4 separate regions of the Homo sapiens genome follow, and all the other regions are linked to region 1. Evidence: promoter capture Hi-C in 16 types of primary human blood cells and fetal thymus (Javierre and others, 2016). All regions are on one chromosome and are shown on one strand. The core of a region is centred on a gene start or on the middle of the fragment in contact, and the rest is flanking DNA. Distances in the headings are between cores, read along the strand shown. Region 1 holds the start of ETS1 (ETS proto-oncogene 1, transcription factor). Region 2 overlaps FLI1 (Fli-1 proto-oncogene, ETS transcription factor). Region 3 overlaps LOC124902789 (a long non-coding RNA gene). Region 4 overlaps FLI1 (Fli-1 proto-oncogene, ETS transcription factor).

The links. The method cuts DNA at HindIII sites, captures the fragments that hold promoters and counts their contacts. A CHiCAGO score of 5 or more calls a contact.
Region 2: a contact is called between a fragment that was not itself captured here and the fragment with the promoter of ETS1 in region 1, in 5 of 17 cell types (activated CD4 T cells, total B cells, naive CD8 T cells and 2 more). The highest score is 11.9, in activated CD4 T cells.
Region 3: a fragment that was not itself captured here is called in contact with the fragment with the promoter of ETS1 in region 1 in 5 of 17 cell types (total B cells, activated CD4 T cells, naive B cells and 2 more); the score reaches 9.0 in total B cells.
Region 4: a fragment that was not itself captured here is called in contact with the fragment with the promoter of ETS1 in region 1 in 6 of 17 cell types (activated CD4 T cells, total B cells, naive B cells and 3 more); the score reaches 9.1 in activated CD4 T cells.

What each region holds. Positions count from the first base shown.
Region 1 is chr11:128,585,937-128,588,978 of GRCh38, forward strand. It overlaps ETS1 (ETS proto-oncogene 1, transcription factor), which reads right to left and starts at 1,622. Exons shown (of 10, transcript NM_001143820.2): 1 at 1,552-1,622. LOC105369565 (a long non-coding RNA gene) reads left to right here. Exons shown (of 5, transcript XR_948163.3): 4 at 404-1,024. RefSeq lists a silencer at 1,575-1,781. The HindIII fragment of the contact is 9,036 bases long and covers 1-2,970 here.
Region 2 is chr11:128,746,189-128,749,230 of GRCh38, forward strand. All of the region lies in intron 1 of FLI1 (Fli-1 proto-oncogene, ETS transcription factor), which reads left to right. Among named protein-coding and RNA genes, the nearest start is that of SENCR, 52 kb to the left of the region's middle. The HindIII fragment of the contact is 2,032 bases long and covers 541-2,572 here.
Region 3 is chr11:128,425,539-128,428,580 of GRCh38, forward strand. The region is part of intron 1 of LOC124902789 (a long non-coding RNA gene); the gene reads left to right. Among named protein-coding and RNA genes, the nearest start is that of MIR6090, 95 kb to the right of the region's middle. The HindIII fragment of the contact is 3,566 bases long and covers 1-3,042 here.
Region 4 is chr11:128,727,045-128,730,086 of GRCh38, forward strand. The region is part of intron 1 of FLI1 (Fli-1 proto-oncogene, ETS transcription factor); the gene reads left to right. Among named protein-coding and RNA genes, the nearest start is that of SENCR, 33 kb to the left of the region's middle. The HindIII fragment of the contact is 1,275 bases long and covers 926-2,200 here.

The sequences.
Region 1 (3,042 bases), core at 372-2,871:
AGTCGGTGCTCTGGCCACAGACTGCCAGATGCCAAAGGATCCCACCCCTCTACCAGCTTCCCCCAGGCTCTGCCTCAGGACATCCTTTCACAGCCAGCAACTAGCACCTCCGTGTAAGGAGCCTGCCGGGCAAAGATGCCCCCTCCATAATTAGGCTCTCGGCTTGGCTTCCCACATCCTCAGCAGCGGAACCAGGACGGAAGAGGCTGCATGGATGCCTGAACTGTTTGTTATTTCACTATTGAGTTGGCAAGGATGGAAGTAGTTGATTTACAATTAGAAGCAGCATGCTTCTTCAAATATTAATATTAATAACTGCACTACTGAACACATGAAAAGACCTTTTCATCTTCAAAGCACTTTGCAGACATTAACCCATTAGCTCTCCCTTCCCTCCATTCAGGAACAACAGGTGAGCAAGACTCTCAACAGCAGCAGTGGCCACCCTGCAGCCCTTGTGCACAGCCCACGGCCCCTGAAGAAAAAGCGTTTTCTCTTTGGATAAAAATAGGCCACCAAACCCAAAACCACAACTGATGAAAGAGTTATAGTATCAGTAATTTTACAAATCAAATGGAGCTGATGGAGTTATCATTTTAGAATTGGTATTTCCTGCTGTTTAACAAATACTTTTTTCTCAGTTGCATGGCAGTGGTCTAAAGTAAGAAGGAAAATGGACTTGAGATTAAAAACAAAAACTTACCCAAAAGGTGATAAAGAAATCCTGCAATAGAATGCATTGATTTCAGTGACCCAGCACCCTTTTAAGTTTGCCTGAAGAAAATACTACTTTAAAAGTTGGTAACAGAGACCTTTAACGGTGGGTGAGGAGTCACATACAAAGTGTCACGGCCAGATAAAATCACCGGATGCAGAGGAATTGCCATCGACATCTCCTGCCACTGAGTCCAGCTCTACCGTGGGGACAAGAAATACCTCCCTAACTCTGAGACAACCGCGGCCCACACCCACACCATGTCTCAACAACAGACTTAGGAACTTGTAGATCTTTGGACAACTGCAGGTCAGTCCCAAGACAGAGAAAAACACCAAACAGGCTAGTTTGGCTAGCAAGATTCAAACCTGTAGCAATTTCCTCTCTATTAAAAGCAATTCATTAAACTACTAGCAGGAGAAAAAAGTAAAACAATAGATTTACTAGGAGTGAAAGAGAATAAAAAGAAATTTATATATTTAACTACAGCTTTATTTCTTTGGAAGTGCTCCAATTTGCAAAAAAAAAAAAAAAAAATCAGGGTTTCTGACAAGTAATCTACGGGTATCTAAAACGTGCATGGTTTTACTTTTGTGAAGCAGGGAACATTTTTAAAAACATAGTCTTGCTTTCAGACTATTCTGACGAGGTTAGGAAGTATTTTTGAAAATTGTTAAACAATTAAATGGGAATATAGAAAGACGTGAAAAGAGAAAGAGAAAACTCACTTGTATCCTGAATCTCCCTACCGACTTACTCTTTAATTCCACAGAAATTTTTTTAAAGCAGGAAAAGGAAAATGGACTGAAAAGTTTTAGGCAGAAACTGACACACACCTCACTTACTACTTTGCCGGAGAGCAGATCCTGAGTGAGCTTCCCTCAAAGTCTGTGGTCTCTTTCCAACTACCTGCGGGAATCCTCTGCTCCGTAGCTTAAGAGGATGCAAAGACCATAATGTTTCTAATAGAGCTGCCTCCTTAAATTGGGGGGTGTGGTCAAGCCAGGGAAAGCTGGAAAAAAGGCAGTCTTCCTCTTGCCCCTGGCACCAGGACAGCAGCCACTGGCACAGGCACAGCAGTCTAGGTGGAAAGCACTGTTGATTGACAGTGGTGGCACCAAATCACACATTATTTCGTATTCTTCAAATTGTGCTTCAGCTGAATATAACTCAGCCTTGGAGAGTAACAGGGAGGGAGATGAGCAAAAGGGAACTAGTTCAGTGGGATAACACTGTATCTCACCTCATCATTTGCTGATGCATTTACTCTCTGCTGAATATGTAAATATTCATGCTTCATGTTCCTTGACTTTCTCAATGGAGCCCCCATTAACCTAGGCAAGGTCTCAGGTGAGGGAAAGGGATTGCTTTAGAAACACAGGACGTCCACCACCCAGTCACCTGCTCAGGCTTCCCGTTTCTCTCTAATAACTTGATATGAAATGTGATATTTTCTAAAGAAAAGAAAATAATTTTGTGGAAGAGAGCTGACTGGATATGGACTTGGGATTTCTGAAAAGTAAAGCTAAAAATCCCCTTTTCATATAAGTCTGGTTTTAGGCAATCTCTAAAATAAGGATACTTTTAGCAGCCCTGACTCATGGTCCGTGGTGCAGGAATAAAAGGGCAGAAGTGTTCATACATTTCTCATTTAGGGAAAATGTAAACAATATGAAAATCTTACATCTGTCCTAAGTGAAAATACACAGCATCTTTTATTCACATATTCAGGACTATGGTAAGAATGTTACAGCATAATCTCATTTCTATGAATGGAGTTATTACAATTTTTTTTGAGAAGTCAGTATTTGGCTGCTTAATCTAAGACTTTTATCCTAAAAGATTCCATCTTCTTTGAGTAGGAGGTGGGAGTTAAGATTTGTCATAGTTGGCTTCTTTCTCTTTTTAATAAAGATACAAACTTAGAAAATCCTTGAAAATCTAATAACTGTCATTTGGAGCCATATCATCATCAGCCTTCATTGTATAAAGCTGGCAATGCAGTTAAGATGACATTGTAAGTAAAGCAAGATTTTACTGCTCATCTTCTGCCTTTGCACATTAACTTGGAAGTAAGGAAGAGGTAATGCTATTGGTTCACTTTAGTTTAATAAATTGCCTGTGCCAGGCACTGTTCTAGGCACTAGAAAGATAGCAAGTTTGCATTGTAGTGAGGAGACAGACACATAAATCAACGATCTCCCCCCAAAAATGTAATACATGCTACAAAAGAAGTCTATGAAGAGAGCTAGGGAAGCTTCAGCCTGCCCCTGTAACCCAGTCAATTTCAGCACACTGCCCCATTTAAAGAGCCCACGGTCAATTAT
Region 2 (3,042 bases), core at 307-2,806, 160 kb after region 1:
ATTCATTGCACACTTCTTAGGTGCCAGGAAGTGTGCCAACAACTGGGGATGAAAACCAGGAATCAGACTGATGAGGTTCTTCTCTTCAGGGTGCCTAACTAGAATTTGTCCTCGAGAAAAAGAATAGGAAAGTTCCCATGACCCCAGGAATCGAAGAGACAACCAAGGGCACATGCCATCCACACTCTTTCCTCTCCTCAAGGCTTAGAAAAACTGCAGAACCTGCCGCCTCCACCCCTGGTGGACAAGCCTCTGCTTCCCCTGTGGGAGCCCATCCTTTAGGATCTGAATGTTCTGACTCCCACCTTCCCTTTGTCACGCAGAGTCCTCTCTTGTCCCTGCAGACCCAGATTGAGATCCTCTTGGTCTAGCTGCCAGGTCAGACCCATAAAGACCAGGCCTCAAGGGACATTCTTAGAAGCCTCTTTCTCAAGCAATAGGAAAGCTCCGGAACTCCATCCTGGCTCCCAGGCTACTATTTCAACCCTGCAGTGGGTGAAATTCACTCCACGAGGAAGCACTGCAGTCACTCCCCACGGAAGCTTTTCTTCCAAACTTTCAGCTCTTGGTGGTCAGGGAAGTCTGACCATTTATCATCATCGGAAAGCATGAAACTTTCAGTAAAGGATGGTTAAAAATGTCCAGGAGCTGGGAGATTAAGTAACTTGCCCAAAGTTGCACAGCCAATAAAGCTCCACATTGACCCAGCTGGTGGCCAGTGCCTTTTGTTAGAACAGATTTAAAGCAGCTGTCCATGAAGGGAAGCAAGCAGTGTGGTGATTGGCTGCCTTTTGACCCCATCTGCAGCCAGGATGGCCAGGGCTCCTCTGCAGGAAGAGGCTGCTCCCAGTGTGGTCCAGATCTTCACCCATCCTCAGGCGGCACCATCACTGGGATCAGGAAACCATTCCCCAGGTCAGGGACAACATTCACATCATGACAATCTGTAAGGCGCGGGCTGCAAGACAGCAGCCCATTGTCTTGAAGCAGGGTTCTGGAGGAGACACGGTGCCCATCACCTGCCCTTTCTTTGTCCCAGAGCAGAGGAGGGAAATGACGAATCTCAGCGCAGCAGCACTTTATCCACCTGTGTGGCTGTGCTGCAGTATTTTTCATGACGGGTACAGCCACTCCAGTGACATCTGGCGGAATAGAGTCCCAGGGAAAAGTATGTGGGACAGCACTTGTGCTGGTGCATCCAGGTGGCCTTCCCAGAAGCAGCCCTCCCTGCAGGTTCTCCCATGCCATGTGGGTTTTGTCGTGGTGGTTGCTGCTTCCATTTTTATCATCCCACCTTTGCTCCAGTGAGGCCTGTATTTAATACTTCCTACCCATCCGGCTAGGTGGGAGAATACTGGCTCCGTCTTACAGAAGAGAACATCTAAGCTGCTTAATGGTAGTAAGTCTCAACATCTCAGTCTGGCTTTGCTTTGCGCTGTCCCTTTGATACTGTGGGACCTACTTTAATGGTCAGGCCACCCCCTACTTTATTCTCTGAGAGGAGCTTCGTCCCGGACGGTCAAGTGTGAAGAATTACACCCAGTAGAGCATTGCCGACCCTTTTGTGGTTCCCACTGCCATCTAGAAAAAGCCACTGGACAGTGGACAGACCCAGTGTAAAGAAACAGAAAGTAAAACACACTGTAAAATGTTCTCTTCGTGGGGTTCAGATGAATGTTCTATCTCCCATCCTGTGAGTTTCCATATTCAGCACTTTTTGCTTTTCAGCAGTAAAAGCATTCTCTGTGGGAGGAGAATTTAACTTTGATCTTTAGAGATGCCCTTTAAATGTGGTTATGGTCAAAAAAGTGACTGTGAACACTCAAAGTCAACAGGCAAAGGTAAATACCACGGGAGACCTGGAGCAGCACTGAACGGGAGGCCCGTGAGGCACAGAAGGCCATGGCTCTGGATTCTGTTACAGGGTACAGTCCTGGGAGGATGCAGAGATCCTCTTCTCTGTGCTCACTTAGGCTATACCCTTCATTTGTAAAACACCATTAAATAAAGTACTTTCGTCTGCAAATAATTGCAATTGCATCTTCTAGGAATTCTTTCTCTGGGTCATCCACTGCTGAGCCCCCTCCCCAGGAAGTGGAATTGTAAGTGAAAGGGGAAAGGCACTTGGGAGGGGGAATGATGTTCAACAAGACTCCTTGAAAAGTCAGCCGGGGTCCAGGCACGGTGGCTCACACCTGTAATCCCAGCACTTTGGGAGGCCGAGGCAGGTGGGTCACCTGAGGTCAGGAGTTTGAGACCAGCCTGACCAACATGGTGAAACCCTGTCTCTACTAATTAGATGGGCGTGGTGGTGGGCGCCTGTAATCCCAGCTACTCAGGAGGCTGAGGCAGGAGAATTACTTGACCCTGGGAGGCAGAGGTTGCGGTAAGCTGAGATCGCGCCTCTGCACTCCAGCCTGGGCGACAAGAGTGAAACTCTGTCTCAAAAAAAAAAAGAAAGAAAGAAAAGAAAAGTCAGCCGGACACTCTGAAGCTCTGTGGCAGATTTGGCTGTGTGCTACGGCCTAAAATTGGAGACGGCAAAGTGGAAACGGTTTAGGGGAGGAGTAGAAGCTTTGCAGTCAGGCCAGCAGCATGGAGACTCATGAGGTGAGGGGCCAGAGGCAAGTAGCAAACCTCTTTAAGCCTCAATTTTCTTTTCAATAATATGAGGATCCTAACTCATATTTTAAAAGGTTAAATGAGGTGATGATAGTAAAAGTTCCTTGGAAACTTCAAGTCATCAAATAATACATGTTCTATTTGATCGTTCTCATTTAAAAATGTGGTCCTTGTTTGGTTTTTGTCTGTTGTTTATTTTGTTTTTGTCGTTTGGAGATAATTCCACTATGTGTCTATCAGAGGACTTAGACTTTAATTCTGAGATCGATTCCCCCCTCACTGTGTGAACCTAGAAGGGTTATGCTTTGTGCCTCAGTTTCCCCACCTGGACAGTCATGGTGCTGATTCCTGCCAGCCAGTGTCAATAACCACAGTGAAAGGATACTCAGACAGTCACCTCTACAGCCTTTGAATATGGGT
Region 3 (3,042 bases), core at 308-2,807, 160 kb before region 1:
TGTGTTCACTCTTGCCAAAAAATGAATCTGATCATGTTGCTGCCCCATTGAAACCCTCCAACAGTTTCCCACCACCAGGAATAAGATCCTAACCATGGTCCACAAGCCACACCCGCTGGCGGCCCATAAAACTCAACTCATGGCTGGGCGGGGTGGCTCATGCCTGTAATCCCAGCACTTTGAAAGGCCAGGGCGGGCAGATCACAAGGTCAGGAGATCAAGGCCATCCTAGCTAACATGGTGAAACTCTGTCTCTACTAAAAATACAAAAAATTAGCCAGGAGTGGTGGCGCACGCCTGTAGTCTCAGCTACTCAGGAGGCTGAGGCAGGAGAATCGCTTGAACTCAGGAGGCAGAGGTTGCAGTGAACTGAGATCACGCCATTGCACTCCAGCCTGGGCGACAGAGCAAGACTCCGTCTCAAAAACAAACAAACAAACAAACAAAAACAAAAACTCAACTCATGCCCTGGTCCACTGGTGGATCTGCTCTGACCACCCACCCTGCCAGGCCCTCTCTCTGCCTTCCAGTGTGCTCTGTGCAGGAGTGTCAGCCTGCTCTTCTCTTCTCAGGGAGACCCCCACCCCCTATTGTCAAGTCTTCTGTCTCAGCACAAGTCACCTCCTCAGCAGGGAACCATGAATCTAAAGCTGCTGTGTTCCCCACCCCGGGACTCTCTAGCCCATTTTCTGTGTAGTATTCTTTTTTCCTTTCTTTCTTTTTTATTATACTTTAAGTTCTAGGGTACATGTGCACAACATGCAGGTTTCTTACATATGTATACATGTGCCATATTGGTTTGCTGCACCCATGAACTCGTCATTTACATTAGGTATTTCTCCTAATGCTATCCCTCCCCCAGCTCACCACCCCACGACAGGCCCCAGTGTGTGATGTTCCCCACCCTGTGTCCAAGCGTTCTCATTGTTGAGTTCCTACCTGTGAGTGAGAACATGCGGTGTTTGGTTTTCTGTCCTTGTGATAGTTTGCTGAGATTGATGGTTTCCAGCTTCATCCATGTCCCTGCAAAGGACATGAACTCATCATTTTTTATGGCTGCATAGTATTCTATGGTGTATATGTGCCACATTTTCTTAATTCCGTCTATCATTGATGGACATTTGGGTTGGTTCCAAGTCTTTGCTATTGTGAACAGTGCTGCAATAAACATACATGTGCATGTGTCTTTATAGTAGCATGATTTATGATCTTTGGGATCACTGGGTCAAATGGTATTTCTAGTTCTAGATCCTTGAGGAATTGCCACACTGTCTTCCACAATGGTTGAAATAATTTACACTCCCACCAACAGCATAAAAGCGTTCCTATTTCTCTACATCCTCTCAAGCGTCTGTTGTTTCCTGACTTTTTAATGATCGCCATTCTAACTGGCATGAGATGGTATCTCATTGTGGTTTTGATTTGCATTTCTCTGATGACCAGTGATGGTGAGCATTTTTTCTTGTGTCTGTTGGCTGCATAAATGTCTTCTTTTGAGAAGCATCTGTTCATATCCTTCGCCCACTTTTTGATGGGGTTGTTCGTTTTTTTCTTGTAAATTTGTTTGAGTTCATTGTAGATTCTGGATATTAGCCCTTTGTCAGATGAGTAGACTGCAAAATTTTCTCCCATTCTGTAGATTGCCTGTTCACTCTGATGGTAGTTTCTTTTGCTGTGCAGAAGTGCTTTAGTTTAATTAGATCCCATTTGTCTATTTTGGCTTTTGTCATCATTGCTTTTTGTATTAGTCATGAAGTCCTTGCCCGTGCCTATGTCCTGAATGGTATTGCCTAGGTTTTCTTCTAGGGTTTTTATGGTTTTAGGTCTAACATTTAAGTCTTTAATCCATCTTGAATTAATGTTTGTATCAGGTGTAAGGAAGGGATCCAGTTTCATCTTTCTACATATGGCTAGCCAGTTTTCCCAGCACCATTTATTAAATAAGTGCTTATTATTTGAGACAGAGTCTCGCTCTCTTGTCCAGGTTGGCGTGCAGTGGCACGATCTCCATTTCCTCACTGCAAGCTCCACTTCCCCAGTTCAAGCAATTCTCCTGCCTCAGCCTCTCGAGTAGCTGGGATTACAGGCACCCACCATCACACCGAGATAATTTTTTGTATTTTTAGTAGAGCCAGGGTTTTACTATGTTGGCCAGGCTGGTCTCAAACTCCTGACCTCAAATGATCCACCTGCCTGGGCCTCCCAAAGTGCTGGGATTACAGGTGTGAGCCACCAAACCCAGCCAATTTGCTCTGCAATATTCATTAATGTCTAAAATTATCTTAATTATTTTTGTGATTTTTTTGTCTGTCTCTCCCAGGAGTAAGTAGGTCCCAGGAGAGCAAAAATCTTGTTTCTTTCAGTTTCTAGAACAGTGTCTTGCACACAGTAGGCACCATATGTATATATATGTTTTATTAAAGTATTTAATGTGGTATCTAGTAAATATTAGCTGCTTATGTTATTAAGTAATAACAATTAACGTATATTATTATTTAAAAACATACTACTATGGTTTTTTGTTTGTTTGCTTTTTTTTTTTTAAGTTCTGGGATACATGTGCCGTACGTGCAGGTTTGTTACACAGGTATACATGTATCATGGTGGTTTGCTGCACCTATTAACCCATCCTCTAGGTTTGAAGCCCCACGTGCATTAGATATTTGGCCTAATGCTCTTGCTCCCCTTTCCCCTCACCCCCCGACAGGCCTGGTGTGTGATGTTCCCCTCCCTGTGTCCATGTGTTCTCATCGTTCAACTCCCACTTATGAGTGATAATGTGCAGTGTTTGGTTTTCTGTTCCTATGTTAGTTTGCTGAGGATGATGGTTTCCAGCTTCATCCATGTCCCTGCAAATAATATGAACTCATTCTTTTTTATGGCTGCATAATATTCCACAGTGTGTATGTGCACATTTTCTTTATCCAGTCTATCATTGATGGGCATTTGGGTTGGTTCCAAGTCTTTACAACTTTGTTTTAGTAATAATAGTCACCTCTTACATGAGAATAATTCCTTACCATTTACAGGACATTTTGAATC
Region 4 (3,042 bases), core at 313-2,812, 140 kb after region 1:
GGCGTTAATATTTGGATATATTTTCAAAGAGGGAGAATCCTCTTCTGTATTAGTAATAGGCATGTCCGTAGTTGAAAGAATGTAGATTTTGGAAGGAGCACACTTCAGAATCAGATCTGAGTTGAGATCTTAGCTCTGCCACTTATAAGCTGGGTAACCTCCCAAGCCTCACCTTCCTGAACTATAAAATGAGGAAATTATTTCATAAGGCTATGGTGAGAATGAAACGAGATAACTTACGCAAAGTCCTTAGTTCCATACCTGGCAAACAGTAGCTCCTAAATCAATAATGGCTAGTATTATGTATATACTTTATAGCTTATGGATTAGAAAACCAGCGATAGCAAGCCACTTTAAGTCCTCAAGAGGAAGAGTGTAAGGAGTTGGGTGGTCTAGATGCTGATCTCAGCAAGTCAGGCCCTGTTTCAACCTTTCCGTGAGATGCAGGCAGCCAGGACCTGGACAGAGCCCAAGGGCCAGGTCTAGAGTAGTGGTTGCGGAAAGGGCTGATGTATCAGCTTCAAAGGCTGACTTGCTGCAGCCCAAGACCTTGGTACATAGATTTAAGTCCCATCTGATTGAGAAGGAGGTGCATTCAGCCACATGTGTTCATAAACACTTAACAACTGGCTCTCCAGGTTTGTGTAATTTGCACTTATTTCATGATGCCCAGCTTCAAGCTCCCACTGGGCATGCAGTTGAGAAGAGATGCGTGCAACTGGCTCTCAGGAACCTCATGAGCCAGTTCCAGCACACCACTGCATCCAGCCACCCTGTCCCACAACCACAGCCCATCTCAGAGCAAAAGAGGCACCTGTCCTCTATGTCTGACCTAGCTTTGTCTAAGTGGAGAGGTAAGGAGTTAAAGCGGGGAGAAGAGCAGGCATTCCTGCTCTCTTCTCTGTCCCACACCGGCCAGAAGTAAAGCTTCCCTCCCTGACCCACTTCCCCTCAGGCCAGTTCCATACTGACTAGCAAGTTCATTTTCCTCACAAGCTGAAACAAAACAAAACACAAAACGTGGCCCTCTCCCTTGGGCCTTCAGCAGAGTAGCTCCGCTTTAAGAGGAATCACAGGGTGCAGCCCCAAATGCCATGGAGTCTGATAGTGCAGCAGGCCGGGGGCTAACGCTGTCTCCACCCAGCTCACCACGCAGGTGGAGCGGCCAGGACATGGGCATGCCTTGGCCTAGGCAGTGCACTTCCGGATTCCCTTTGGGAGGCAGCAGGGAGGGTCTGGCCTCATCCTTAATGAACTATCTGGCAGAGGCTGTCACAGAACCATGGGACGCCAGAGCCAAAAAGAGCTTAGTAATCACCTGTGTGTCCCTTTGCTGCGCAATGAGGGTGCTGCGGCAGAGGCCGCACCTCTTAGCTGTGTCACCTCTGGAGCTGGACCGCCCTCTCTGGCCTGCTGCTGGTGGTGCTCCTGCGTGTTGACGCTTGGACACTTTTTGAACAACATTTCTTCCATAACTGCAGTGGCCCCTGTGAGTAAAATCTCCCTGAGGCAGGTTCTATGCCTTCTCTTGTCCATTCCCCTTGGGCACCCAGTATGCCCTGAGTGTCCTTGTGACCAGAGCCACTCCTGTTTTGCAGTAAGGGAAGCCAAACAAGGAGCAGAGTCAAGGCAAACGTTCCAGTGCGTTCTGTATTGGGATTCTTCCCTTCAGGCACAGAAATTCTCATTTGCACTCCCCATTTGCCCTGGTGGGCATCCCAGCTGTACCTGAGTATCAGGTAAACCTGCCTTGGCTACATCAAGTCCAGGGATATGATGAACCATCTAGAACTAACCACATTCAATTAGTCCCCTAGCCAAGGGTGGGGTGAAGGAAATGAGAGGAACCTACAACTTTTTGCAACCTCTACTCCAACCGCCAGAGACACACCCTTCTGCCTGATGTTCTTTGACTCAAGGAGTTGAGAACCACTTTGGGTCTACACAGATATGACACAGCTACCCGTGTCTGCCTCGGTTTAGAAAGAGCTGGCTGAGCTCCTGCGTGAATCCTAAAGACAGGACGGTCATTTGAGTTTCAGCTGCAGGGATTCTTCTGCTAGGCACCTCTGCTTTGTAATCGGATGTGTACGAGGGCAACACAAAGGACTCCCAGCCCGGCTCTGCCAAGAGACTTTGTTGTGCTCCATGGTTCAAAGAAAAAAGGTAGGGGGAGAGATTAATGGAGCGAGAGGAGGCAAGCTTATTATATTTATCAACCATGTTCGCATTTCAAGTGCCCTGATTTATCTCACAGGTGGGAGGGAAGAACTGCTGGCAACCCTTCTCTCAGGGCTGTGAGTTTTGGAACAGGATTTCCTCTGCAAGTTGTCAAAGATCAGATAAAAGTCTTAATCTCAGGCACACACAGCCACAGGCTTTGGCCTCTGCCACTGTGTGTTCAGCTTTCAGTGATGAGACTGAACAATGGTTGGCGATGCTTTGCATTTAAAGAGGTGGGAAAAGAAAAGGATCAGAGTGGAGGTATGTGAGGCATATGGCACTGCCCGGGGGAAACACGAGTGCACCAAGCAGGCTCCAGAATGAACTCAGGACTCAGGACAACTGAGGTCCCCTTTTGCTCCCTTTGGTGTCCTTTTACCAGTCGTCATGTACACTAAATCAATGCACATACCTGTCACCCCTTTTTAAAAGGATGGCAACCAGATCATTCACCTCTCCTTCCCCATTCCAAGAGCCCGGTTCTTGAGAACCAGGCTGGAAGAGCATGTCCCAGGTACTGGCTGGTGGGACTGTGGAGATGGGAAGCATTTTGACCTTGTTCTCCAGAATGATTTTTGCTAAAGAGATGCTTATTTTTTCAAAATGCAATTCTATAACTTTAATGCCTTTTCAGAACAGAAGAACTGCACCTTTTAGGCACCATGTTGATTAAGTGGCCCTGTGTTAGGGAGTGCTCTGAGGAAACTATGTTGATCTGGCATTTGACCTTGAAACATTTCTAATATCAGAACACAAAGTTCATTCATGTTGCCAGAGCTAGCCAACTGAGTTAGCAAGGGAAGTTTCAGGAAACAGAAA